Linked DNA regions of Homo sapiens: regions 2, 3, 4, 5, 6 and 7 are each linked to region 1. Evidence: promoter capture Hi-C in 16 types of primary human blood cells and fetal thymus (Javierre and others, 2016). All regions are on one chromosome and are shown on one strand. Each heading gives the region's core, a stretch centred on a gene start or on the middle of the fragment in contact. The rest is flanking DNA. Distances are from core to core; before and after follow the strand shown. Region 1 holds the start of DUSP23 (dual specificity phosphatase 23). Region 2 overlaps PIGM (phosphatidylinositol glycan anchor biosynthesis class M). Region 3 has its middle 5.4 kb from the start of APCS. Region 4 overlaps SLAMF9 (SLAM family member 9). Region 5 overlaps IGSF9 (immunoglobulin superfamily member 9). Region 6 has its middle 13 kb from the start of APCS. Region 7 has its middle 26 kb from the start of LINC01133.

What was found. The method cuts DNA at HindIII sites, captures the fragments that hold promoters and counts their contacts. A CHiCAGO score of 5 or more calls a contact.
Region 2: a contact is called between a fragment that was not itself captured here and the fragment with the promoter of DUSP23 in region 1, in 11 of 17 cell types (non-activated CD4 T cells, activated CD4 T cells, naive CD4 T cells and 8 more). The highest score is 10.1, in non-activated CD4 T cells.
Region 3: a fragment that was not itself captured here is called in contact with the fragment with the promoter of DUSP23 in region 1 in 1 of 17 cell types (M2 macrophages); the score reaches 5.4 in M2 macrophages.
Region 4: a fragment that was not itself captured here is called in contact with the fragment with the promoter of DUSP23 in region 1 in 9 of 17 cell types (naive CD4 T cells, total CD8 T cells, non-activated CD4 T cells and 6 more); the score reaches 12.9 in naive CD4 T cells.
Region 5: a contact is called between a fragment that was not itself captured here and the fragment with the promoter of DUSP23 in region 1, in 10 of 17 cell types (naive CD4 T cells, non-activated CD4 T cells, total CD8 T cells and 7 more). The highest score is 10.6, in naive CD4 T cells.
Region 6: a fragment that was not itself captured here is called in contact with the fragment with the promoter of DUSP23 in region 1 in 1 of 17 cell types (endothelial precursors); the score reaches 5.1 in endothelial precursors.
Region 7: a contact is called between a fragment that was not itself captured here and the fragment with the promoter of DUSP23 in region 1, in 1 of 17 cell types (naive B cells). The highest score is 5.4, in naive B cells.

What each region holds. Positions count from the first base shown.
Region 1 is chr1:159,779,364-159,783,165 of GRCh38, reverse strand. DUSP23 (dual specificity phosphatase 23) reads right to left here and starts at 2,204. Exons shown (of 2, transcript NM_001319658.2): 1 at 1,799-2,204; 2 at 623-1,013. The coding sequence starts at 2,065. The coding sequence ends at 828. It overlaps LOC101928264 (a long non-coding RNA gene), which reads left to right and starts at 3,785. Exons shown (of 3, transcript XR_922193.3): 1 at 3,785-3,802. RefSeq lists an enhancer at 1,312-1,888 and a silencer at 1,880-2,269. The HindIII fragment of the contact is 4,062 bases long and covers 1-3,430 here.
Region 2 is chr1:160,023,267-160,027,130 of GRCh38, reverse strand. It overlaps PIGM (phosphatidylinositol glycan anchor biosynthesis class M), which reads left to right. Exons shown (of 1, transcript NM_145167.3): 1 at 1-2,178. Among named protein-coding and RNA genes, the nearest start is that of PIGM, 6.8 kb to the left of the region's middle. The HindIII fragment of the contact is 9,782 bases long and covers 1-3,864 here.
Region 3 is chr1:159,580,531-159,584,379 of GRCh38, reverse strand. It overlaps the pseudogene OR10AE1P. Among named protein-coding and RNA genes, the nearest start is that of APCS, 5.4 kb to the left of the region's middle. The HindIII fragment of the contact is 6,308 bases long and covers 1-3,849 here.
Region 4 is chr1:159,948,940-159,952,744 of GRCh38, reverse strand. SLAMF9 (SLAM family member 9) reads left to right here. Exons shown (of 4, transcript NM_033438.4): 3 at 211-483; 4 at 879-1,253. The coding sequence ends at 1,084. All of the region lies in intron 2 of LOC124904438 (a long non-coding RNA gene), which reads right to left. Among named protein-coding and RNA genes, the nearest start is that of SLAMF9, 3.4 kb to the left of the region's middle. The HindIII fragment of the contact is 4,904 bases long and covers 1-3,805 here.
Region 5 is chr1:159,930,478-159,934,476 of GRCh38, reverse strand. It overlaps IGSF9 (immunoglobulin superfamily member 9), which reads left to right. Exons shown (of 21, transcript NM_001135050.2): 8 at 1-52; 9 at 145-287; 10 at 1,825-1,965; 11 at 2,549-2,665; 12 at 2,874-3,024; 13 at 3,216-3,339; 14 at 3,610-3,785. Among named protein-coding and RNA genes, the nearest start is that of TAGLN2, 7.0 kb to the right of the region's middle. The HindIII fragment of the contact is 4,282 bases long and covers 1-3,795 here.
Region 6 is chr1:159,598,435-159,602,593 of GRCh38, reverse strand. It overlaps the pseudogene OR10J6P. Among named protein-coding and RNA genes, the nearest start is that of APCS, 13 kb to the right of the region's middle. RefSeq lists an enhancer at 3,734-4,159. The HindIII fragment of the contact is 2,357 bases long and covers 261-2,617 here.
Region 7 is chr1:159,985,514-159,989,185 of GRCh38, reverse strand. No RefSeq gene overlaps it. Among named protein-coding and RNA genes, the nearest start is that of LINC01133, 26 kb to the right of the region's middle. The HindIII fragment of the contact is 3,688 bases long and covers 1-3,626 here.

The DNA of each region.
Region 1 (3,802 bases), core at 955-3,454:
GCCAAGATTTAGAGCCCTGGAACTCTTCATTTAATTGTTAAATATCTGCTCTGCATAACTGCCTAGATTGGCTCTGTTCTCAGGTCCTTTGGCCTGAGGTTGTGGGGCAGCAGAATGAGCCAGAGAGCCCAGATGAGCTGAGCAGCACCTGAGGTTGGTAAGAGGTGACCAGCCCTGTGGAGGTGGAGATGGTGGTTATCTGTGAGTGTGACATCCAGGCTGTCTCTACCCCCAGATAAACAAGGGTGACACGTGTGCAGCAGGTGGGCCTACACGGAGGGGCCTCCTGGCCTGTGAGCATCAGAGACCTGGGAATGCCAGGAGGCCAGGCTATTCTGGACCTGAATCCTTTTCATTGACTAGCTCCCCCAGAAAACACATCAAATATTGTCAGGGAACAGATACATAGCATTTCAGCATCTTCAAGGGATTGAAGACGTGTGTTGCTGTTCTGGCCCATCCTTCCACTTTCTAGAAGTGTTGAAGATGGGCCTCTCTGAGCTTTGCCCACCTCATCCAAAGAACAGAGATGGCCCATCTGTCTTTCCTGTATCACAGGGCTACAGTGAGGCTGAAGTAAGTTAATGTGTGGGAATGCTTTATAAAGTACCATGCAACGTGCCCTGGTTCGTAAAACTCATTTATTCAACAAAGCAGTACAAGCCTCCCCTTCAATCAGGACCTGCCTGCAGGGGTGGGCTACTTCAGTGTCTTCAGCCAATGGGAGCTAGAGGGTTTAATACTTTAGTCCACTTCCCTTCATCTCTGGCCCCATCGACAACATGGGGAAGGGGAGTGAGGGCCTGGTAGAAGGGTACTAAGGCCCCTTATTTCGTTCGCTGGTAGAACTGGAAGACTGCTTTCTCCTGCTCATAGGTCTCGATGGAGCCGGGTCGTAGTCGTCGGATTTCAGCAATGGCATCTCCTGCAGCCAAGCCCCGCTCCTTCACCAGGTAACAGGCCAGCATGGTGCCAGTGCGGCCAAAGCCCAGAGCACAGTGCACTCCCACAGCCTACGAAGAGGGGGCTCGATGGGTGCCACTCAACTCCCCCACCCACAACTGTTTCCTGCCCCTCACTTGGTTCTCCCCACAGCTCCTTCTTCTGTGCCAGGTCCAGGGCTCTGCAGCAAAGTCAGGGAGGGCTGTCCCTGCACTAGGTGGCTAGGAGGCCTCTGCACTGGCTGGTTCAAGAGCTGTCCACCTCTACACAGCCCTCCACCTGTGGTGTTCAATACAGAAGACAGTAGCCACGGCTACTGTGGCTACTGTACTCGAAATGTGGCTAGTCCAAACTGAGATGTAGTGTGAAAAACGCAACAGGGTATGAAGAGGTAGTAGAAAAAAGAATGAAAATATCTCATTAAGATCACCAAAGTTAATTTTATCTGCTTCCCTGCTTTTTAAGAATGCCGTTGCTAGAAAAATTAACATTACATGGAGCCACTTAGGTTCCATTATATTTGGACAGCTTTACTCTAGAAAATGGTAAACAGCCTCCACCTGACTTCAACCCCCACCTCTCCCAGGTGTCTGTCCACACCCTTCTCCTTCACAACTCACAGTATTAGCTGGTTTTCACTGCCTCTCCTCAAGCCCAGTTCGCACTGCTTCGCCCTCTCTTTAGTTCCTTCCGTTTAGCGCTTCCCTCCCCCGCACTGGCTTCCCAGTCTCCCGGCCCTACTGTCTGCCTCCCCGAGCCCAGTTAAGTTATCCCAGGCCCGGTCTCCCCAGCTCCGCCCGTGTCCCCCGCTGACCTTCCAGGCCCCTCCCTCCCTGCGCTGACCCCGCCCGCTGACCTCTCCCCGTGCGTTGGCCTCGTCCACGATCTGCACGAAGCGGTCGATCTGGTCGGGGGCCGGCGGGCAGAAGTCGGGGATGCGCAGGCGGTGCAGGGTGAGGCCGGGGCAGCTGTCGCTGTGAGGGGGCCCGCGCTCCGTCAGGGACACCAGGTGCCGCACGCCCAGGTCCAACAGGAACTGGTAGTGGGCGGGGAGCCGCGGCAGCGCCAGTCCCGCCAGCCGGCCCGGAAGCACCCAGGAGAAGTTGGGGGGCTGCACGCCCATCGCTGGGAAAGGGCACAGGACAGCGGGTCATGGGGGCCGAGGCTGGCCAGCCCCGCTCCGCCCACGCGTCCCCTCGCCCGCTCCGAGCCAAGTAACTCACCACCTACCTGGCCTCGGCGCCTCCCGGGCCACGTGGTCTGCAGGGCGCCGCCCTCGGGTCGCTCTGCCCAGCCGCGGGGATTGGCCCAGAACCTGGGGCGGGGCTGGAACGCGGAACCCAGTCTCTGAGCGACCGAGGGAAGCGCCGCGATCCCGCCCCGTCCGAGCAGATCACGCGGTGATTGGCTGGATCATCATAATGGGCGGGGGGTTACTTCCACGGGGTTCAACCCACTCAGCTAAGAAGGAAGACCTGGAGCGAGTTAGGAATTGTTTGCTGCGGATGGAACAACCCGGGGTCGGGCTCTGCTGCACCCTGGCGGCATGTTGCAGTCATTGCGTCACTGGCGCCTGCCCCTGCCTCCTCGCGGGCCGGCCTAGTTCTACCTCCTTCACGCTGGATGCCCTGGGGTTTAAGAGATGACAAATCGGCTTTCTCCCAGGACGAGGAGTCTCCTCTCTAATGATTGACTGGTCGTTATCAGCGACTTTTTGAACTGTTCCAGTAAGAGGGAATTACTGCTGCAAGGAGGCTATTCTCATTTTTTCATTGCTGGAACTATTAAAAACTTACCCAGGGTAATAATTATAGTAATAATAATAACCAGCACCAACTTCTCCTGTCAATCCAGTTGCTCCTCAGGACTTATTGAGCATTTATTATGTGCTAGATAGTCTTCTAAGCACTTAGCACATACTGACTCATTTAATTGCCACAGTAATCTTATAAGATAGGTGATCTAGTGAATCCCATTTTATGGATGAAAAAACAGAGGCACTGGAGAGGTTAATAAACTTGACCAAAGGATGATGACTAATGCCTCCAAAATCTTTAATAATATCGCCATTTCCTAAAGTTAAATGGAACATTGTTTTCTCTTCACATAACCCCCTCATGTCCCCAAATATTATCTGGGTTAAACGCTTGTGGGTTTTCTTAATTTTTATTAGTATTTCATATTTCTTCATTTTTCAAGGTTTCCTAGTTCTCTGGGTCACTGTCCCCTGGGCAGGCTAGAGTTGATTAGTGTTGTTCTTACTAGGTGGGGGCCCCTAGATCTGAACACCGTTTCCACTGTCATCTGACCAGTCCATATCCTCATTTGAATAATGTGCTTCTAGCGATGCAGACTAACTGTAATTATGAAAATAGTTAACCCTTATTGAATTTGTTTATGTACCAGGCCCTGTGCCAAGCGCTTTCTGGAAGAACCACATGTGAAAGGTATTTTTGTATCTTTTTTTGTACATGAATCATTGGAAGCTTAAAGAAGTTGGTTAACTTGGCCAAGGACACAGTGATCCAAGCCCAGGGCACTTGGCCATGAGGATGTATTATATTTCCTTCCCTTTGCACCCACCTATGACACACGTCTGACCATTTAAGCCTTTGGCTTCAGCAAGATGGAAAGCAATTTGTCTTCTCCTAAAGATCAAAGCCTGCTCTGACCCTGTGGGAAATACACTTACCATTTACCCAGACAATTACTTTCCCCAGGTTCCAGGAGGTGCCAAATCTCCCCTTTTTCTCCTTCCAGACAATCACAGCCCTCATTAAGCCCTTCCTGTTTGCACTCTCATTTCCTACATAAATTCCTATCAAGGTTACCAGCCCTCCCCAGTTTATTCCTTTCTCTC
Region 2 (3,864 bases), core at 710-3,209, 240 kb before region 1:
ATAAACGATTTTAAGAGCTGGGCATGGTGGTTCATGCCTATAATCCCAATGCTTTGGGAAGCTGAGGCAGGAGGATCACTTGAGGACAGGAGTTTGAGACCAGCCTGGACAACATAGTGAGACCCCCATCTGTACAAAAAAAAAAGTGCTACTTGGGAAGCTGAAGTGGGAGGACCACTTGAGCCCAGGAATTCGAGGAGGTTATAGTGAACTATGATTGTGCCACTGCACTCCAGCCTGGGTGACAGAGCAACACCTTGCCTCTAAAACAAACAGCTCCAACTATTTTATTTTTTTATTTTTCTGAGACAAGATGTTGCTTTGTCACCCAGGCTGGAGTGCAGTAGTATAAACATGGCTCACTGCAGCCGAACTCCCAGGCTCAAGTGATCCTTCCTCCTCAGCCTCCCAAGTAGCTGGGACCACAGGTATTTGCCACCATGCCTGGCTAATCTTTATTTTTTGTAGAGACGAGGTCTTGCTATGTTGCAAGAGGGAGATCACTTAAGTGATCTTCCCTCATTGGCTTCCCAAAGTGTTGGGATTCCAGGCGTGAGCCACTGCACCCCGCCTGACCTAACTATTTTAAACACTACTCATATTGCCATCATCTAAATTCAACAACAATTTGCCATATTTGCTTTATGTATATGTATAATTATATATTTATAAAATTTTTTGAACCATGTGAAGTTGCAAACATCATTGAACTTCACCACTAAATATATCAGCATGCATCTCCTAAAAATCAGGTATTTTCTTACAAAACCATAATTCTGCTATCTATTATGATTTAACATTCTGTCATTTTCAAATTTCTTCAGGTGTTTTTTGTTACATCTTAAAGAACAGACGTTCTTGGATCTCAAAGATTCCGAGGAAGGAAAGAACATGGTGGATAATCCATAATTAAGAAGTTTGAATCTTTTCCTAGTCTTAAAAACAAAGTGAGAACTAAAGGGGTTTACCTTCCATCAAAGTTGAACAAATTAATTCTTTTGTGTGTCATACTTTCTGTCTCTCTCCCTAAAAACATGGGGGTGGTAATCTCTTTGTTTTATCTGGTAGGTTTTCCAGATAAAAGATTATACAGGTTTGGAATCTTAATATCCAACCCCCAACTCCAAGCCCTGCCCCAACAACAACAGCTAATTATTTTACATCTTGATGATGGTAAATTTTTCATGATTAACCAATTTTGGGCACCTATTCCGCCATATATGGTTTTATTTAATTTTCACAGCAACACTTCAAAGTTGATATTCATATTCTAAATTTATAGATGAACGAAGAGGCTCAAAGATTAAACAACTTGCTAATAAGTGATTTTTACCCATGCTTTTTCCATTATATTATGTTTTGGATTTTTCCAGAGTACCCAAACCCAGCAGATGCATACTGCTCCAAAATAAATGGAACTCAATACTGGCTCTGTCAAGTGTCTCTTGCCAATCAATTGTCCTTCTAATCTTTTGAGGGGCAGTTCTCTCAGTTGTACCAAGTCACTGTCATCCCCAAACTTTTCAATGATTCCAGGCCTTTAACAACTCCCCTCCACCTCCAAACCCTCTCTCACCAAATTGTGTAATTTCTTTGTTTACTGCTGGCTTCATCATGCACTTTTCCTTCATAGCCTATTTTAAGAAGTTGATTTGCTGAACTGCTTTTTAGCCAAGCTATTTGTAAATCAAGCTACACAAAGTATGTGGCCATAATTTCCAAAAGGCAAATGATCATTGTTCAATTGCTGTTGCTCTGCAGTGTGCATTCATGCAGTTAAAAATTGTACTGCATTGATAGTACGGCATCAGAGAATAGATCACTTAGGTTCAAATCCCAGTGCATGATCCTGAGCAAGATTATCATATCTAGATACATTAGTTTTTATCTGTGAAATGGGAATGATAGCACAATCTTCATAGAATTGTTGGTAAGGATTAAGTGAGTTGATATGCTCAAAGTGTGCATGCTGGCATAGAACAAGTCACTGTTTACAAGCCTTTAAAGAAGGAGCTGTTCTGGCACTGTAAACTTGAACCTTTTTTCCCCAAATCTAATGGATATAGGCAAGGAAATTATATTTATATAAAATAAATGTTTGACTACCTTTGATCATAAACTTTATTCTCATCTTGACCTGTTCCTTTGAAAAGATAATAAATACTGATATGTGAAAAATGTATGGACAGATTATTCAGATGTCTGGTTGAGGCTTTACAGTTTTGTATATTTCTGTCAGACATTAAGCTGACTCTAAGCAGTGGAGGTTTGGTTTATGCCCCTAAATTACACAGCACTTCTTTTCTCCATTGTATCGAGGGGTCATTCAGGGGTTGCTGTTCTGGAGATGGAAGCACATGTCTCCTGCCTGGGTCAGAAGCGTCACAATAGCACAAGCATTTATTCAGCACTGGCCTAGGAGAACCATTCATTTAGTCAAAACAAGCATTTATATTCATTATCCTGAACAAAAACCAGACTAAATGAGAACATTTATAGCTGCTCAGGCACTCTGCTAATTGCTATGTCTGCTAGACAAAGTGAAATGACACTTACAGTGACTATTTAAAAATAATTTGGAGCATGAATATTTGAAGCTCAGTTCTTTTTACAAAGGAAATGTATAACCTTTGCTCTTCATTTTTTTTGGCAGTTATTTATAGATCCAGGCCCTGTGTCAAGTTCTGTAATAGATGAATAGACAGTTTATGCTCTTGGAGAGTTAACAGTAAAAACAGAAACAGAAACATACCCCACTGATAAAGTGTTATATAACACCCCATTAAGTTCCACAATGATGTGATTTGTGAAATGGAGGGGCAGTAGGGCAAGGTAGAGGATATTTTTATTTGTATGTTACAGATAAGAAAACTGAACTCAGAAACAAGTGACTTTCCAAGGCCAAATAGCTGGTTAATGGCAGGATTGGGGTGGGACCCCAGATCTTCTGATTCTAATCTTTTTTTTTTGCAAGTCCTTTTTAGTGCTATACAATGACAGGTGATTACAGTGGAAAACCTCACTTATTTAGCAAATGTCATTCACTTAGCAAACTACTTAGCAAAATGCCATGAGTATCTTCTGTGTGCCAGTCATTGTTCTAGGCATCGTAGATGCAGTGAGTGAGAGAGGGAGGCAAAGACCCTATCTTTATGGATCTTACATTTTCATGGGGAGGCAAAGAATAAGCAAGTACAGGATTGTGATGATGATATATCATAAAGAAAAATAAGACAAGCTAAGGAAGTAGAGAGTGATGGCAGTGCGGAGAGTGGAGTAGGTGCTTCTTTAGATGAACTGGTTAGGAAGATACTGTGATGAGAGGGCACTTGAACAAAGACCTGGGAAGTGAATGCATGACCTTCATGCAACCATGGTGCAGGGAGGTAAGGGAAGAGCATTTCACTCAGCATCCCTCCCTGCTGAGTGAAAGCAGTGCGGAGATCCTGAGTTAGGAATGAGCTTGGCAGGTTTAAAGAACAGTAAGGCAAGTATTACTAGTTGGAGTGAGCAAGGAGCAACCAGAATCTAATTCACATTATCCAGCAGAACGACATGAATGCTAGTTGAAAAATACAGTTAACATTAGCATTTTTACTGGCTTATAATGCAATAACTTTGAGCCCAACCTATTTTTTTCCTCTGGCTTCTGAGCACATGTTAATATGTAAGGAAGATGAAACATATATGTAAACAACTTATATTTTAGTAATGATACAAAATACTTTCACAAATTTTGTGATGTGGGAATTTTTTAAAATTCCATTTTCACAGATGAGACCCCTAAAGCTCAGAGTATATGCACTTTGCCCAAGGTCAGAGTTAGTATGTGAGGCAGGAATAGACCCTAGATCTTCTGGAGCT
Region 3 (3,849 bases), core at 8-2,507, 200 kb after region 1:
TGCAAAAAAGGACAAAGATGAGAATTAAAAATATATATATAGAATATGGAACCATATTTCTTACTGCAAATCATGTGGAAAAAAAATATGGTGCTGCCAGTACAGATAGGACAATTGAGAGGATGTTCACTTGGAGGAGGTGGAGGGTAGGTGGTAAACTTGGTTCCTCAAATGCTAAATTTGAAATGATAGTATGACTTATGTGTAAGAAAGGTCTTGGAGAATTTGTAATATGTGACGGCCACTTGGAATTAGAAATACAGGTTTCAGAGAAATCAACATATAAATGATAATGAAACAAAAATGAATTTTGTCTTTCAGTGGAAAAGAGAAGAGAGGAAAGGTCAGGGAGCCAACCACTGACTTGAGGAAACATTCACATTCATGGTGTTAGAGGCAAGATAAGAATGGCAGGTGGGGAGGGAGGTGGGAGACAAAAAATTATGTTTGGCAGAGAGGATAGCGTGTGGTGTCATGGAAACCAAGTCAGTGTAAGTGTCCAGGAAGCAGTATCCAGTGGTATTAAATGCATCAGAGAGATCTAAGTTGAATGCATGCTGGATTTAGCAATAAAAACTTCAGTCGTAACCTTTGAAAGAGTAATTTTCATAAAGTGAGCATGTCAGAAGCCAAGTTTCAGGGAATGATGGAGGGAGAAAGAGGAAGGGAGTTTGTTTCCTAAGGTTCAGTAATTCTGACAAAGAACAAAAGGAGAGAAACAAGATTCTCCACAGGAGACTTGGGATTCAATGCATATTTCCCACACAGTTTATAGATTGTCTCTTCTTGACAGAGTGGCTATCATGTCTTTGTTGCCTACCTAATAACATTTCAGCCAACAACAGAGAAAAATCAGTGTCCACCTGAGATTATGACTGACCTTTCTACCAAAGTAGCTCTTTCAGACTCTAAATGCCAGGCTCAGGCTGCTGTGAACTCCTAACTCCCCTTCACAATTCTGGCAGCTTCACAAATTTGTCAGTCACTTTCCAGGTCATGCTGATACACAAGAGTCTTTTCTTGATCTCATTTCTCTGTTCCTAATTTCAGGGTTCATTTATAAAAGAAAATCTCTGCTAAGTTTTTTTTTATCTTCTACTTTTAGGTTTAGTGAGACACCTCGACCATATTACCTCACTGAAATCTCACTTTTAAGTTCAGAATTCACCTGAAACTGCTCTCTGGAATGTCACCATATCTGTATCTTAGTCTTTATCTTTCTTGACATCCCTTCACTCTTACACTTCTTTTTGAACAACCCATCTTTATAGTTTTATAAAATATAGATTTCATTGCTGAGATTAATGTTTATTCATTTTTTAAATATAAATTTTTAAATAAAATTTACCATTCAGACTCCCACTGGCCACAACCATCTTCATGCTGTTCACAATCCCTTCATAATACCTGAGTCTTCTGGGAGGAGATGTGCAAAGAAGAAAAATGTAACAGCAGGGACTCAGTGTAACTCTGTATCTTGAGTATGTTTAAAAGTTCCCTTCTCTGTGTCTAGGAATATATTTTCCAGTCCACAGTGATAGAGAATACATGCACTGAAGATGCAGAAGCAGATTCCTTGCTCGTGCAGCTACAAGAGGTCTTGGCTAGAGCTGTCTTGCGCTACTCTTGTCATCTTGTCAACTATGCCATGTTTCTGCTCATGACAGAAACATGGCAGCACAAGAGTTTTCTTATGCTGATCTATTTTATTGTTATCCCTAAAACTTCAAAATACAAAGAAAGAACCTCACAGAAGCTGACAAAGTTCACCTTGCTGGTTGTCTCCAGCTTCTGTGAATGATGTCATCCACATCTTAACTTCAGCAGGGAATGCCATCATCTTGAGTCTCACCCACATTGGTCATGTATGTTTTCCTGAGAGTGTTGGTTAGTTCAGTGACTTTATACACTCATCCTTATTCTACAATACTTTCTAGTCTCATAGCTCAGAACCAGGAGATTTTCTTGGTCTTTGTCATTTTTTTTTTAATTTCTGGGTTCTTTCTTTCTTTTTTAAAAAAATTTATTTAAGATTTAAAACAATTTTTATGAGTATGTAGTAGGTGTATATATTTATGGGCATGCACTGTGAAATAAGCATATCATAGAGAATGGGGTATTCATCCCCTCAAGCATTTATCTTTTGAATTACAAATAATGATCTTTGCCATCTTGACCACCATTGACTGCTGTGTATTTGTCTGGGAATTCCTGGAGTGCACAGTCTTTGTGAATAAGAGGGCATGTGCCCAGCTGGCGTGTGGTGCCTTTTGCATTGGCCTGATCATGACAGTGGTCTAAATAACCACAGTGTCACAGAGGTACAAAAGGAGCACATATGCTATTTAGACTGCTTCTTGTTTGACACCCTTCTTGTCATGAAACTCTCCTGCATTGACAATACTATCTATGAAATAAACAGTATTTTATTCACCACACATGTGTGCAGGTGTCCATGGGTTTGGTTTGCATTTCCTATATTGACATCCCTGTTACCTCCATCGTGCTTAGAATTTCCTAATCTGAGGTCTTTGCCACCTGTGTCCCCCAACCCCCACCTCATCATGGTCATTGTCTATATGTCTGTGCTTGTACTGCTTACCTCAAGCACAAGCCAATGAATTCAATAGAAAACAGGTCTTCTATAAGAGACCTACATTATCATCATTCATTCTGCCTCTGGACACTGTTGTTTACACTCTGAGGTACATGGAGGCCAAGGATACCATGTACAGAGCTGTGGACAGAAATATTTCTTAACAGATTGACTCATTTCATCAGGAGACCTTTAGTCCAGGGCAATGTTTTTCCTGCTCATAAACATTTTTCATCTCATAAGAAGACCAAATAGAAAGTTCTGTTGTGAATTGGTTCAAACACTTAGACTGCTTTTCTACTTCTAGAAAGAAGGCAGAATCTAGGATTTCTGCTCAGGGTGCACATTACTGCAGAGGCGAGTGGCACTCCAGGAGCATTTTGATGACTTATTTTTATGTGTGAGCGAGTTGATTGAAAATCCTCCTAGCTCCCACTTTACCTGGCCATTTGGTGCTTGACTTTTGTCTTTGAGTGGAGCAGAACTACTGATGATAATGGCAGCAGTGACTTCAGTTAAAGAATCCCAGGGACCACCTGAGACTTTCTGCAGCTCCGTGATTTCAGCTTTATGACCCTTAATTGACATTTCAAAAAGGCTTTCCTTACCATGTGCTGATTGAAAAATAAATAGTTTAGCAAAGAGAGGTCCTTCTTTCCATGAATTTGTCCCCACTGGCCACTTAAATAGTGTGTGTTTAGGTGAAGTACCCTTTACTTCTGTGGGAGGAAACAAAGACTTTTTAAAACCACATTATTGCTGCAGCCCCAGAAGCTGAGAAGAAAGAGAACAGATGGGTGGCTCTTCTCAAAGAATGGTGCCTTCATCTGGATTTCCTCTTCTTAAACATTTATCTTCTTGTTCCTTGAAGGCTTTTAGGAATTATTAATTCCACAGTGGCTGCATGGTAACTGTTGATTAGTGGTGGCTTATTTTGGGTAAGTGGATTTGGTTGTTCTTCTCTAAGCGTGGACCACAATTTTCAATCATTTAAAACTCCAAGTACTGATTTTCCCTTTTTCTGGGTGGGTGAGAGGTAGTGGGATAAGCGGCTTAAAGTTTATTTTTGTGTTTCCTAGTAGAATTTTTCTTCTGAATTGTTCTTCTCTGCTCATATCTTACACTTTTTCCTGGTGAGTAGTTACATGTGTAATTAAGAAAATTGTCATGTATATCCACTGTGAGACAGAGCTACAAGGTACTTTCCCAAAGCCCAGGTATAGTAGTATCTATTTCATACACTACTATATTTC
Region 4 (3,805 bases), core at 1,064-3,563, 170 kb before region 1:
CCAAAGGCAGCTCTGTCTTCCTTGACAGTTGCCTTGGGGACCTTGAAACCACAGGTTTTATGGTGGTTGGGTTTGTTTGCTTTTGCCTATTTGTTGTTTAGGTGCAGGGGCTGTCAAGGGGTAGCATTAGTACCCCAGGTTTGAGGAGCTTAGGAAAACAGACCCGATCCCTGATTGTTTAGAGGGTCTTTGTGTTTCCCCTTCATCCAGGATGGCTGTCAGAGCCCCAGATCACTGTGAACTTTGAGAGTTCTGGGGAAGGTGCCTGCAGTATGTCCCTGGTGTGCTCTGTGGAGAAGGCAGGCATGGATATGACCTACAGCTGGCTCTCCCGGGGGGATAGCACTTATACATTCCATGAAGGCCCTGTCCTCAGCACATCCTGGAGGCCGGGGGACAGTGCCCTCTCCTACACCTGCAGAGCCAACAACCCCATCAGCAACGTCAGTTCTTGCCCCATCCCTGATGGGCCCTTCTATGCAGGTACCAGAACCCCTGAGACACCCCCTGAGCTCATGAAAGATAGTGCCTAGAGGCACCATCTCCCTCCCCCAGCTCTTCCCAAGAGAGCCCAGGGAATTCAGAAGCTAACCCCCTCCCATGGAGGCTTGACACCTGGATTGGAGAGGAGACCCTCCGTTTTTCTAGTGCCCCCAACTTCCAAAGGTCTTTTCTTTTCTCTTGCTTGGCTTCAGAATGATTCCTAGATCTCAGTTCCTGAGCTTCTGTGCATAGAATATATTTCCAGAGACACTTGCAAGGGGACTTCAACTGATTGTGAACTTGAGACCCCTTCATGAAATTTGGGTAGGAGTCTGCCCAAATCTTAACCCCAACCCTACCACTGATGGGCCCTTTCCTCCTTTCTTCCACCCCAGATCCTAACTATGCTTCTGAGAAGCCTTCAACAGCCTTCTGCCTCCTGGCCAAGGGATTGCTCATCTTCTTGCTCTTGGTAATTCTGGCCATGGGACTCTGGGTCATCCGAGTCCAGAAAAGACACAAAATGCCAAGGATGAAGAAACTCATGAGAAACAGAATGAAATTGAGGAAGGAGGCAAAGCCTGGCTCCAGCCCTGCCTGACTGCTCCTTGGGAACCCCAGTCCTGAGCTTGGTTTCTTCCCAGCACCCAGAGAATCCTTCCTCAGCTCTCTTCTTTCCAGGGGAAGGAGGTGCTCAGGGGTGGGTATCCAGAGAGCCATACTTCTGAGGGAAGACTGGCTGGCAATAAAGTCAAATTAAGTGACCACAACTCTGCAGGAGCTGTGTTGGGTCCTTCCGTCCTCACTGGGTGGCTCTGGCAAAACCCACTCTGCTGTCTTTGCCCCAACTCCCAGTGCCTTCCCCCAAGTCCACGTGCTTTTTCAGGCCCTCCTTTGGGGAGAAGAGTGGGTCTAAAGGGCCCCCTCACAGGGAAGTTTTGGTATGCTGTCACTCACCACCTATCCCGTTTTCCACCAACATGCTTGCTATTTGTTCATCAGATAAGAAATGTGAGAGATTTCTTTGAACCTAACTGAACCTGTGACTTGAGAATTTCAGGCATTTTGAATCCTGCATAAAAGTGGCCTTATTCCTGTTAAGATTCTTCTGCTCCCTTACCCCACTCTCATCCTGGCAGATACATTTGCTTAACAACTCCATCCATCCCAGACTAGTCTAGAAGCTCTCCTAAATAGGGAGGTAGGAAGGACCTCATTCAGACCTACCCTGGGTCTGAGTTGAGCTCGCAACCTCTCCGTCATCTCCCTGATGCCAGTTGCTCTGGGCCTCTGGCGTCTACCCCATAGGGATGCTGGATTATTAGCCGAGATCGTGGAGCCTTGACTTCTGCTTGTGATTAGTATTACTGTCCTGCCTGTGTCCCTGCCTATAGATTTCCATGTCTTAGGCCTTCTCTTTGGAGTCTTGTCCTGGGTTAATGCCCACCCCCAACTCCCTGGCAAAGGCCCTTAAGTTTATGTTCTTGCTCTTTCCCTAGACCAATGATCAGCCTCCCAGGCCTAATGTGTCCCTGCCCAAGTCTCTAGTATTCCCTCCAAATCAGATCTTGTGGATGTTACTTATGCAGTTGCCATGGGGCAGGGGGTTAGGGGGAAGCGAGGACTGGGGAGAGAATTAGAAAACACCCAATTGACAGGACAGGTGTACGCAGTGGGTGAATTGCAGGAAGTGGTGAAGGCTGTGATGTATGGCTGGGAGCCTAGGTGACATTTTGGAGCTCTGGGCTTTGATCTGCTACTCGCCTCTGGCCTGTGACCCTGTGTTCAGCAAACTTCCATTGAGCCACAGCCTCTTTCTCCAAGAAGTGCACACTGGAAGAGAGAAGCAGGCAGAGAGGCAGCTTGGAGCTCCTACAGAGACACAGTTAGGCAAGCGACTTGGTGCCACAGAGACAGGGTGGGTTGGGGGCCCTGGGGAGTTTCAGAAGAGGTGTCTGAAGGGTGGGGAGAGGGCCGCATGGCAGGAGGCATGCCTAACATTGCTGTGGGTCTCTTCTTCCTCTTTGTTTTTGAGGGGGAGGATGCTGATCTCCAAAGTATCTTCTAAAAAAGGAACAAGAAGTATGTGCAGGGGTCAGTGGAATGCATTCAACTGGGCAACCAATGAGACCAAGGATACCTTCCTTTTAGGAAAGTAGAACACATGGGCTGGCACAGGACCACCCAGGAGGAGAGTCTTGAGAGCGGCGTGGGGCAGGGCTGGAAGCCAAGAGTAGGGGTCTCCCTAGGTATTTGTGCAGGAGATGGAGCCCCTTGGGGCTTGGGAAGGAGGTAGTAAGGTTGGGAAACCAGCCCCAAGAGCTCCTAGTGCTGGTAAACTGGTCCCCTCTACTTTCTGAGGGCCTGAACCCTTGTCCCTCTGGAAGGCAGTCCCTTCTTGAGGCTGGTTCTCTGGGCTTCCCTTAGGCCCTGAGCAGTCTTGCTTCCAAAAAAGGCCAGCAGCCCCCAATCCCTTTGATTCCTTTTATATCTTTCCTAGGAGGCACCACTGCAGGGATGGGGACTGACTGGAAAGGCCACCTTGAGTCCATCTTGCACATAAAGAGGCAGCTCATTTCTCATGTTATTGCAGGATTGAATTCATAGAAAGTAAACAAAAGGATGAATAAATAAAGGAATGAATGTATGATAGGCCCAGGGATTTCCCTGGAAGTTGGCAAAGTTCCTTCTTCTTACAGCCGATCTCTGAGCAGAGAAGGGTTGAGGCCTCAAAAGAGGCCGAGCTTCTGGAAGAGGAAGGATGAGATCTTAAAGAAAGTTGAATATAAACTCAGAGAGGCACAAGCCGCTACCTCTGCAATATGCCAGGAACTTGGCAAGCACTGGGGAGGCAGAAGAGACACCTCTGCCTTCAAGGAATGTTTTGTGGAGTGTGTAAAGATACAATAACAAGGTAGGAAAAGGGCTGGGGTGAAGGTGAGGGCGTGGTGGGAAAAGTCACGGAATGTGTCCTGAAGGGAACAGATCAACAGAAATTTGACCTGTGGCCAGCAGTGAGTCTGGAAAGGAGAAAAGGGCATTCTATCGAGACAGAAGCTAAGTGCTAAGACACTGGTATGTGAAAGAGCACAGTAGTTCTAAGGCCTGCAAAGTCATGCACACTGCGATAAAGGGATAAGTGAGAAACCAGGCTGGAAAAGTAAGCAGGGCCTTTCTGAAGCAGGAATTCAAAGACAAACAGGACAATATCCACACCCTTGTGGGGCTAAGTGTTTCATTGGGATAGAAGATAGGCACACAAAAAGTTAAATGACAATATATGAGAAACCGCACTTCTTTACGGATCTGGTAATAAGACTGC
Region 5 (3,999 bases), core at 405-2,904, 150 kb before region 1:
AGCAATGGCCTCCTGCATCCACCCTCAGCCTCTGCCTACCTCACTGTGCTCTGTAAGCCTGACCCCAGCTTCTCCCTCAGCCTGCTCCCTTCCCCTGGGCCAGGCCAAGCCCCTCTCCCCCAACTTGCCACTACTTTCCCCCAGACCCAGCCCAGGTGACAGCTATGCCTCCTGAGACACCCCTGCCCATAGGCATGCCGGGGGTGATCCGCTGCCCGGTTCGTGCCAACCCCCCACTGCTCTTTGTCAGCTGGACCAAGGATGGAAAGGCCCTGCAGCTGGACAAGGTACAGGCTTGGGGCAGGGGAAGGAGGGTCTTAGCTTGGCGTTATTCTGCTCAGGACAGCAGGGTGGAGTTAGCTCGGTTTAATTCAGTTCAGTGACTGGGGACACACATCTTTTGTGAATTTAATTTGTGTTATAAGACATGTTGCATAGGAAACTACTTAAAACCCCTGAGGAAAAATTTCCATGGTTTAAAGTGGTGGTTTTGTGTCTTCTTTGGGGAAAGAAGAGAGATGATCTCTGGGGAAAATGATGGCAAAGAGTCAAGAAGGAGAACTGAAGTTTCTTTCGTGTGATGACTGGGAAATTGTGTGTCCCGGGGGAACACACACTTCTTACCAGGTGCTGTGTGGGGTAGTGGGTTGAGGGCAGGGGCAAGGAGGCATCCATCCTTAAAGTGGGCACCATCTGGGCAGAGGACAGCAACACTGTCTGGAAGGCCAGGGATGGAGCTCGTGCCTTCCTCTTAGGGTGGTTGAGGATAGACCAGCAACAGATTCTGGGACTTTGGTGATGGGCCTCAAAGAGGACACAGTCATTCCCTTGCAGAAACCAGGGTCAAGAGGCAGGAAGTAGTATAGTACGTTTATGGAATCATGGATCGTCCAATTGGGTGGGAGCCGGAGTGCCTGCAGGGACATGAATGGTGCAGAGAAAGCTGGAAAGACAGGTTAGCATCAAAAGGAAGAACTGGATGCCAAGTTACTATTGCCTCATTCCAAGGCAATTGGGATCTTTTGTCTGCAGAGACTATAAATTTTTGAGGCCTAGTATTGCATCTTTTCATCATAGTGTACCTGGGGCTTCTACAACAATAGTACTCAGTATATCTTTGTTGAATATTTAAGAAAAAAGTCTACAGGCAGTTGGAGCCACTGGAATTTGTTGAGCATTGGTGTGATAGGATCAGAGCTGTGATCAGGGGTTGAGCTTGCCCAGTGGAATGTAGCGGGAGATACTGGACATAGGAAGAGGGGTTCTGAAGCTGCTGAAATGGCCCAGGTGAGAGTTATGGAGTCTGATTTACAGAGGACATGAAGATGAATGGGCTCATGCTCTGACAAAAGGGACTTCCCAGGATGACTGGCTTAGTGAGTATTTCACCAGGGGGAGTGAGGGAACGTGAGGAGGCAGACTTCAGCAAGAAGGATGGCGGGCCCTTTAATAGAGAAATAGGAGCTGGTTTTGGGTGGAAGACTCTGAACTTAGTTGTGGAGTGCTGGGAAGAGAGCCAGGTGAAGTCCCAGCAGGCAGGAAGCCCCACGCGGCCCAACTACAGGGGTGGCCATTCACAGTGTATTTTCTGTGAGTGGCACCCCCTGGAGTTGTGCAGTCACAGCCTCACACTATTGGGAGGGGTCCCTCTGCAGGAAGGAAAGGAAGCACTGGAAATCAGAGAGGGGTCAGGCCTAGACATGGAGCTGCTGGAGTCTTCTGCACAGCTGTGGGTTTCTCATCCTGCCCCCTCTCTTGTACTGCCATCCCGGGCTTGTCTCTGCTGAGCTCCTCTCTCTAGCTGTCATCTTCTCTTCCTTCCAGTTCCCTGGCTGGTCCCAGGGCACAGAAGGCTCACTGATCATCGCCCTGGGGAACGAGGATGCCCTGGGAGAATACTCCTGCACCCCCTACAACAGTCTTGGTACCGCCGGGCCCTCTCCTGTGACCCGCGTGCTGCTCAAGGTTAGGCCGGGGGTGGGCGGGGGCCTGTGGTGACAGTGGGTCAGATGGCTGGAGATGGTGCTAAGGCCAGGCTGATGGGGGTGGGGTGGGGCAGACACATGGGGAGGGGTTTCCAAGTTTGTTTCCCATGGTGGCCACGGCAGCAGCTGCCTGATGCCATCCCAGAGGTTTCTGCAGAGGTGGTGCTCGGGAGGTGGGACATCAGTCACACACATCCAGAAGTAAGATATCCTGTTTGCCCCAACTCTCACTAACCTTGACCGTGCTGCCTCCCTCTCTGGGGCTCTGGGAGGAAGAATGTTCTGCAGAGGTTTGTACATCTCTGAGAGTCCTGCCTAAGCCTGCCAGCCCTTACTACACCACCATTTTCCTCCAGCCCCTACCCACTGGGGAACAGAAACAGAGCCAGAGAGGAATTGAGAGATGGAGAGAGAATGAGGTAGAGACAGGCTTGGTGAGTGTTTAGCTAGGGGGAGTGAGGGAGAGTGAGGTGAGACATGGCATGACAGGGAGCACAGAGAGAGGGAGTAGCCAGCCTTAGATGTAAGAGAGGGCCCCTCCCAATGCCAGATCTGGCTTGCAGGCTCCCCCAGCTTTTATAGAGCGGCCCAAGGAAGAATATTTCCAAGAAGTAGGGCGGGAGCTGCTCATCCCCTGCTCCGCCCAAGGGGACCCTCCTCCTGTTGTCTCTTGGACCAAGGTAAGGCTCCTGAGCCCGCTCTGCCTGTACCCACGCCCACTACACCCCTGCCTCTCGTGCCCCAGCCATTTTGTGGGAGGGAGGGTGTGGGAAGGAGAAGGCTGTCAGAGGCAGGGTGGGGAGGAACTGGAGCTGCCTGGAGAGATGAGGGGCGCCTTTGGTGAGGGGTGGCTGCGTGTGTCCTCAGGGCTCACCAGTGGTTCTGTAGGTGGGCCGGGGGCTGCAAGGCCAGGCCCAGGTGGACAGCAACAGCAGCCTCATCCTGCGACCATTGACCAAGGAGGCCCACGGGCACTGGGAATGCAGTGCCAGCAATGCTGTGGCCCGAGTGGCCACCTCCACGAACGTCTACGTGCTGGGTTAGTGGCTGGAGAGAGGGCCAGGGGCTGGGAGAAACTACTTGGGAATCGTTTTTGGAGGCCCAGAAAGAGGATCATGGGTGTGGGACCCCTGGGATGATGATGGGTGAAGGTCAGTGGCCCTGGGGCCCCTGCTACTCTGTACACTCCCTCAGGCCCTGACCACCATCCCTCCATTCCCCCCTGCCTAGGCACTAGCCCTCATGTTGTCACCAATGTGTCCGTGGTGGCTTTGCCCAAGGGTGCCAATGTCTCCTGGGAGCCTGGCTTTGATGGTGGTTATCTGCAGAGATTCAGTGTCTGGTACACCCCACTGTGAGTGACCTGCTCCTGCCATTTCTCTGTGCCAATCTTGCCTCCTTTCCTCTCCTCCTTGAACCTATCTGGCCTTCTGCCCTTTCTTCTGTCCCTCTATCCCTCACCAGTCCTGGCTCTGCTTCCCTGTTTCCAGATTCTGAGGCATTCAGGGCCAAGGTCCTGAGACCTTGGATGGTTGAGCAGAGGGGAGGTGGTTAGATCTCTGGACCCCAGATCTTCTGGTCTTCCTAGCTCACGAGGTGCCCCCCATGTCCTCATGTCTCCCAGGGCCAAGCGTCCTGACCGAATGCACCATGACTGGGTGTCCTTGGCAGTGCCTGTGGGGGCTGCTCACCTCCTAGTGCCAGGGCTGCAGCCCCACACCCAGTACCAGTTCAGCGTGCTAGCTCAGAACAAGCTGGGGAGTGGTCCCTTCAGCGAAATCGTCTTGTCTGCTCCGGAAGGTGAGAAGCTTCTCGTCCCAGAACAGCAGAGACAAGGATGGGGAAGGGCTGCTGGGAGAGCTGGGATATGGGAGGCCCTGGGTGGGAAGGGGCAGAGGTGCTGGCCAGCTTGGGGTCCAGAGGGGTGTGTGGAAGATGATTTGAGCTTGTCTTCAGGGGTTCTGGGAGAAGAGTTGGGCACTGGGAGTTGTGGAAGGCCAGGGGAGGGGCGCTG
Region 6 (4,159 bases), core at 190-2,689, 180 kb after region 1:
GGTTTGAATGTTTGTGTCCCCTCGAAAATTCATGTTGAAACTTAAACCCCAACGTGATATCATTAAGAAGTGGGACATTTAGGAGGTGATTAAGTCATGAAGGCAGAGCCCTTATGTATTAGTCTGTTCTTGCATTGCTATAAAGAAACACTGGAGACTGAGTAATTTATAAAGAAAAGATGTTTAATTAGCTCATGGTTCTGCACACTGTACAGGAAGCATAACACGGGCATCTATTTCTGGGTAGGCCTCAGGAAGCTTACAGTCATGGTGGGAGTTCACGGGGGAGCAGGCGTCTCACATGGTGGGAGCAGGAGCAAGACAGTGAGGCGGGAGGTGCCATACGCTTTTAAAGGACCAGATCTCGTGAGAACTCACTATCTCAAGGACAGTACCAAGAGGATGGTACTAAACCATTCATGAGAAAACCATCCCCATAATCCAGTCACCACCCACCAGGCCCCACCTCCAACACTGGGGATTACATTTCAATATGAGATTTGGGTGGGACTTCCAAACCATATAACTTTATAAATGGGTTAGTGACCTTATAAAAGGGATGGGAGTAACTAGATAGGTCCATTTTTGCCCTTCCATCTCTTCCCATATGAGAAGCAGTGTTCATCCCCTCTGGAGAATGCAGCAACAAGGTGCCATCTTGGAAGTAGAGACTATGCCCTCACCAAACACTGAACCTGTTAGTGCCTTGGTCATTAACCTCCCAGACCCCAGGACTGTAAGCTCGAAATTTCTGTTCTTTATAAATTACCCACTCTTTGGTCTTTTGTTAAAGCAGCTTGAACAAACAAAGACAGCAGATGTGTCTAGTTCAGCAAGACACGCTGAGAAGTCCAAGCATGGTGCTTGTACATAGTAGGTACTCAACCTCTAAGTGAGGATTTATTGAACACCTACTCTCCAGGTGCTGTTCCATGCAGGGGTATCATAATGAGGAAAGCAGTTCCTGATCCCAATATGCCTGTGATCCAGTGATAGAAACAAGCAAGAAAAGCACAATGAAAAAAATGTTAAACTCATGTAATTTCCCAAAAATAACTTTAGGAACACTTAAGAGAGAACAACTAACTGCTGGGTGGGAGTGAGGTAAATGATACTGCAGAAAACAATGTGAAGTAGGGTTTGTCACTGGATACCAGCCTGTGCAAAACAAATGGGTAAGGAGATTAAAAAATGCTTTTGATGACAAGCGAGGCAGAATTAAAAACATTATATTCATAAAAAGGTTCTGATGGGTGCTGAGTGAGGAAGTGAACTCAGCACCCATCTGACTCTGGGACCTCTATTCTATCCACCATGTAAGACAACATCTTATTGTCAAGAAGAAATTAGAAGCACACATGTTTATTTAAAAAAAACTGGACATATGATTGAACCATTGTGGGTAACAGAGTTAGAGACAAAGATATTTCACCTTCAAGATTTATGACTCATATTTTCTGCCAGCTCTTTGTGGGCCCCGCTGTGACATTTAACTTTTGATTGCACGAGTGGCGTGTGGTATGTCTGCTGTTGCAGCATTTAGATGTAGAGACAATACTGGAGAAACCTTTGTCTTTGATTCATGAACTAATGAAGGAGAGTGGCTGTGTGCAGAAGTAGAAAGGAGAGTAATGGGCAGTGGGAGTTGGCCACTGCCACTGGAGCAGGATAGAACAGGTTTGATCACCACCCAACTTCCATCATTGTACTTTCCTGCTCAGAACAGCCCTCTCTGTCTCATCTCTTCCCTTCTACACACAAAAAGACAGGTATGAGGATGTACAAGTAGTTGCTAGCCAGAGAGAATTGAGAAGGGCAGGTTATAATTAAGAGTTGGCAGTACAGGTGGCCTTGATGGCAGTGGGAGGGGTTCTTTCATACTGTCAGGAGAGACACTCTCATTCTGGAGGGAATCTGCCTCACTCTTGTTGGGCATAGAGGTTTAGATCTGTAGTGGGATGACCCTGAGAGTGCTGTCAAGAAAGACCTCATAGCATGTCCAAGACTCTTGGACCCAACCTTTGAGCCCCCAACAGCTTCTGTAGGAAGCCTTGTTTCTATGATGTAGAAATTGCAAAGACACAAGACAGGAATTAGAAAGAACTGGTCAGACCTTGAAAGAACAATGGTCTCCCCAATCTAGAATTCAGAAATCTGTAAAGATATTCTTTACCTGAGATGAGCTCCTTAGGATGTTATCGATTCTTTCTCAGTGGAGGGAAAGGAAAAAAATGACTGTCTTGAAAAAAAGAAAAATGGCATTAGGGAATGAGCAGAGAAGTATTCTTGACAAAAAATATTTTAGTAGAAGGAAGCACTCAACAAAAGTCTTAAACCCTCCCTACCATCACCCATCACCCAAGATAACCACATAGAAGGTATGTATAGGCATGAAACCAAAAAAGTTCCCAGAAAGCCCTGGGAAAAAGGATATTTTTCTCAAAGGAGTCTACTAAGGAAAAATATTTTTTTTTCTTGTTAGCCTTTTTTGGTGAATTGAGTGATTCTACAATTATACTTCTGAACTACTCCTGACTGCTGGGACTGTTTGTTTTGTTCTACTTTTGTTTCTTTATGCTACCAGGAGGTGCCATGGTATGTGCAAATGAGGAAAGCTTTTATGGTTCTTATTCTAACAGGGCACAGATCTTCTTGACCAACTCAATTTTTCTTCATAATGATTAGAGAGAAGTTGATCCCATGGAGAGAACCAGCAGCCAGAAAGAATTCAATTAGGGAATTTAGATTAGAAAGGTGAGAGTTAAGTATGATCTGTGGCCATGGCCAGCATCTGACGACTACACTGGATAAAAGCAAAGGCTTTAGCATAAATTGAATAATAAAGACTAAATTTTCAAGGACTAAGCCAGTGTTTTCCAACTTTCCTATTTTTTTTTAAATTTAATACGCTCATCTCACTTTTCCCTGACAATTCTGATACTATTTTCTTTCAAGGGAATCCATCATTATTGACTATCCTTACCTTGCTGCGATGATTTTGTAGTTTTATTTTCTGTAGATTGCATTACAAAAATGAGACACATTGCTTTTTATTTTTTAAACACAATATAATCATATTTAATATACTTTTAAAAGTCCCTTTCTTCATCCTAGAAATTTGGATGCTCTTTCCTAAAAATCATGCCCATTCTCCTTGACCTCTCACATCCCTAGTTGAAAATGCCTGGACAAAACTTTGAAATATATGGAAACAGAGACTAAGATTTTGTAGTAAATATACCAAAGCAAGACATGCACATCCCATTGCAGCATAGACTGCATGGGACAGAGTCGTAAGGTTGTTTAATGTAAGTAAGGACACACATTTCTATGACTAAATGTATATTTATATAGAGGAATAATGCATTAAGAAATGTTTCTGCCCATGGCCCTGCATAGGGCATCCTTGACCTCCTTGTTCTTTAGGCTGTAAACAACAGGGTTCAGCAGGGGAGTGATGATGGTTTAGGTCACTGAGAGAAGGAGGTCTTGTTCTATAGAGTTTTCTGACTTGGGCATGAGGTAGGCAATGGAAGCACAGCCATAATGGACAATGACCACAGTGAGGTGGAAGGCACAGGTGGCAAAGGTCTTCTTCCAACCCTCAGCTGAGGCAATCTTGAGGACAGTGGAGATGATGAGGACATAGGAGATGAAGACCAGACCCATGGGGACCAGGATGACAAATAACCTGACAACAAAATTGATTATCTCATTGATAGTGGTATTAATACAGGAGAGTTTCATGACAGGGAGGATGTCACAGAAGAAATGACCAACCACCGTGTGACAAAAAGGTAAGGTAAATATGGATGTTACCTGGACAGCTGCCATGGCCAGGCCAATGCTAAAGGCTCCACACACCAGCTGGACACACACCTTCTTGCTCGTAATGACCCTGTATCTCAAGGGATTGCAGATGGCCATATAGTGGTCATAGCCCATCACTGTGAGCAAGAAGCAATTGTTGATGGCCAAGGTAACAAAGAAGAACGTTTGGGTGGTACAACCTGCTAGGGAGATTGGCTGGGTCTGGGTTACGAAGCTGGAGAGCATCTGTGGAATGATGAACAGTGTGTACACTGTCTTTGAGCTAGCCAGCATGCTCAGGAAGAAGTACATGGGAGTGTGGAGGTGACGGTCAATGCAGATGATGGTC
Region 7 (3,672 bases), core at 533-3,032, 210 kb before region 1:
GGAATTACATTATATGCTTGTTTAACTTAAGCAAACCCAACTATGTATTGAGCAAGGGAACACTGTACTATTATTATTATTATTATTATTATTTTTTGAGATGGAGTCTCTATTGCCCAGGCTGGAGTGCAGTGGCACAATGTTGGCTCACTGCAACCTCTGCCTCCCAGGTTCAAGTGACTTTCCTGCCTCAGCCTCCCAAGTAGCTGGGATTACAGGCATGCACCACCACATCTGGCTAATTTTTGTATTTTTAGTAGAGATGGGGTTTCACCACGTTGGCCAGGCTGGTCTCAAACTCCTGACCTCAAGTGGGAGGTCCACCTTGGCCTCCCAAAGTGCTGGGATTACAGGCATGTGCCAGTGTGCCCGGTGAGCAAGAGAACACTTTAAATAGTAAGAGAATCTCCACCTGCTATTCCATTCAATGAATATACACCACAGAATGAGAGTGAGAAGGAGAGGCAAATCGGCTTTGCCTAAATCTCAGTTATCTTGTGTGATATCTTAGTATGCTGAGTGTGATTCTAATGTTTAAAAACACTTGTAGTTTTGAACCACATGGTTCCTAAATGAAAGCCACCTTCTTTGATTGGTACTGTAAGTCCCAATCTGGAAGAAAAAACCTGGCTGTGTTGGGCTGTTGGTGTCAGCTCTTCTGGGATTTTCATGGGTACTTGGAACAGTGTTTAGTTTGCCTCATATGAAGTCTTTAGATGTTGTATTAGTTTCTATTGCTGCATAGCAGATCACCAACACATCAAGCAGCTCCCAACAATGCACACATTTATCAACTTGGCTTCTGTGGGTCAGGAGTCTAGGTGTGGTCTACCTGAGTCCTCTGCTCAGAGTCTCATGAGACTGCAGTTGAGGCTTCAGCTGGACTGAAACTTCAGCCAAAGTTTTCATCTGGAGGCTCTGCTGGGGGAAAATCTGCTTCCTACCTCACTCAAGTTGTTGGCCAAATTTATTTTATTGTGGTGGTATGGCTGAGAGCCTGGGGTTTTGCTTGCTGTCAGCTGGAGGCTTCCTCTGGTCTTGGGGGCCATTCTCAGTTCTTTTCCATGGAGGCTTCCTCAGAATGGCTGCTACTTCAGCAAGGAGAATCTCTTCAATCTCAGGGAGGGCCAGGGTTCCTCTTTCAAGGTCTTTCACCTGATTAAGTCAGGCTCGTTCCAGATCACCTCCCTTTTTGTTAACTCAAAGTCAACTGCTTTGGGACCTTAACTCCATCTGCAAAGTCCTTTCACCTTTGCCACATTCTATGGGTAGACCCACGTCAACACGTCTCACCTCCACTCAAAAGGAAGAGATTATACAGGCCATGGACACCAGAGACAGGAGTCATGAGAGTCACCCTAAGGGCTATCTGCCATGGACCTCAACCCCAGAAAGTACTCAGGGCCCAGTCAGAAAAACAGCAACCACACTAGGTATTTAACAGGAAATGTTTAATATAGGAAATTAAATAGTTATTGGTGGACTAAAAAAAAGCAAAACAAGACAATAGTGATATAACAACGAAAAAAGGGCAGGAAACAATCTCTCCCTCCCACCCCACTGGCTAGGGCAATAAAGGGTTAATGAAGTCAGGGTTATCAGGACCTCCATACTTGGAGAAAAGTCCTTAGCCACTGAGTTAAGTCCCCCTCTGACTGATTCTGTTTATCACGGAGGGGCCCTGCAGAGCTCAGATCTCTGTAGAGTGGGTGCTGCCTCACTCACACGGTCCTTCTGAGGAGGTGTCATGAGGCTTGTTTTGAGGGCGCTAAAAGAAGCTGGTGACTGGGACAACCTGCTGCTAGGATGAAGGACCATTCCTGGGCCTATTGCCAGGAGTAGCCAGCTGATAGGAAGGACAGTTCTTCCTTCTCTTGCCTTCCAGTCTCTCTCCAACATCCCTGTCAGCAGAACCTGACAGCGAGCAAGCTGGCAATGGAGAAATATGCTTACCAGAGTCCTGGATCCAGCATCACAAAACAAGTGCAAAAGGGTAGATTTAGATCCTAGAGACAATAGCTTAATAACCAGCATTTAGTAACCACCTTCCTTAGACAAGGCTGCTGAAACTTAGGTCCAGCGGAAAACCCTGGACTTCACTTTCTGGTCTAACACTGGTCATGCTTGGATTTTAGGGAATCAATGAATAAGACCTTTTTTCTTTCTGGCCTGGTTCTGAATCAAAGTTCTTGATAAAGAGAATTAGAGGGAACTTAACTCGGTGGTTAAAGACTTTTCTCCAAGTTCATAGGTCCTGATAACCGTGATCTCATCTCCTTATTATCAGTAGTCAAGAAGATGGTAATAAAACTATCAGCTTTATTACTAACAGAATCTGATGTCAGGCATGCACCCACATGTGCTTGCCTTGCTAACAGCCCCTGATGTAAACTTATTGCCAAAGTGCAGGCCTCCCCTGTGGGTTCTGGGTGGAAGCATCCAGGCCCCTGAGATCAGATAAGTATGCACCTCCCAGGTGGCCAGCAGATTCTAAGGAGAGACAAAGGCACATCTGAATGAAGCCCACCCTTGGGGAGGAGTGCCTAGAACTGAGAGAGTTTGGTGGGGGTAGGGGGTTTCCCTGGTGGAGGTTCTTCCATTAGGGAGTGTGAGGAGTGGGGAATGAGTTTTCTCAAATTGGTATACTTGAAAACATATTTGATTGCAACCTGGCTCTGGTTAGAAATGTTATAAGAACAGATTTTTAAAAAATTAGAGGTACTTTTAAAAAAGTGATAAAATACACATAACAGAATTTACCATTTACAATGTACATTTTTAAGTGTACATTTCAGTGGCATTGAGTACATTCACATAGTTGTGCAACCATCACCACTGTCCATCTCCAGAACTCTTTTTATCTTGCCCTTTAAACTCTGTACCCATCAAAAAATTGGTCCCCAGTGACCCCTTGCCCAGCTCCTGGCAACCTTAACCTACTTTCTGTCTTTGTGAAATTGACTAGTCAAGGTACGTCATATAAATGGAGTGATACAATATTTATCCTTTTGTGTCTGGCTTTTTTGCTTAGCATTAGGTCCTCAAGGTCCATCCGTGTTGAAGCATTTATCAGAATTTCCTTCCCTTTTAAGGCTGAATAATATTCAATTGTATGTATATACCACATCCTGTTTATCCATCTGTCGAAGGACACTGGGTTGTGTCTACCTTTTGGCTATTTTGAATAATGCTGCTATGAACATGGGTGTACAAATATCTGTCTGTGTCCCTGATTTCAATTCTCTCGGGTATATACTCAATAATGAAATTGCTGGATCTTATGGTAATTCTATTTTTAATTAGAAACACAGTTTTTAGTGGACATTGTGAGGAACATCAAGAGGTAGAGGCCGAGAACCTGTGAAATGCACATCACGCAGCCTAGAGGCCTCTTAGGTAGAAATTGCACACTTGTCCCTGAGGGCAGCAGCTGTTCTTCTGCCTCTGCTGCATCTTCACGCCTACAAAGTGGAGAATGGGCTGAACCCGCATCTCCTTTACTTTCAGGCACTGGGTGGAGAGCTCCACTCTCAAGAATAATGGCAGTGGCCAAAGTCCCTTTCAGTCCCCCTAGACCCGGGCTCGTGGCTGAGATACCTGAGTAAGATTCTGGAGCCCTTGAAGCTTGCCTAGCTTTGTTATTGTTGCCATCCTTTGTCATCAGTATCACTG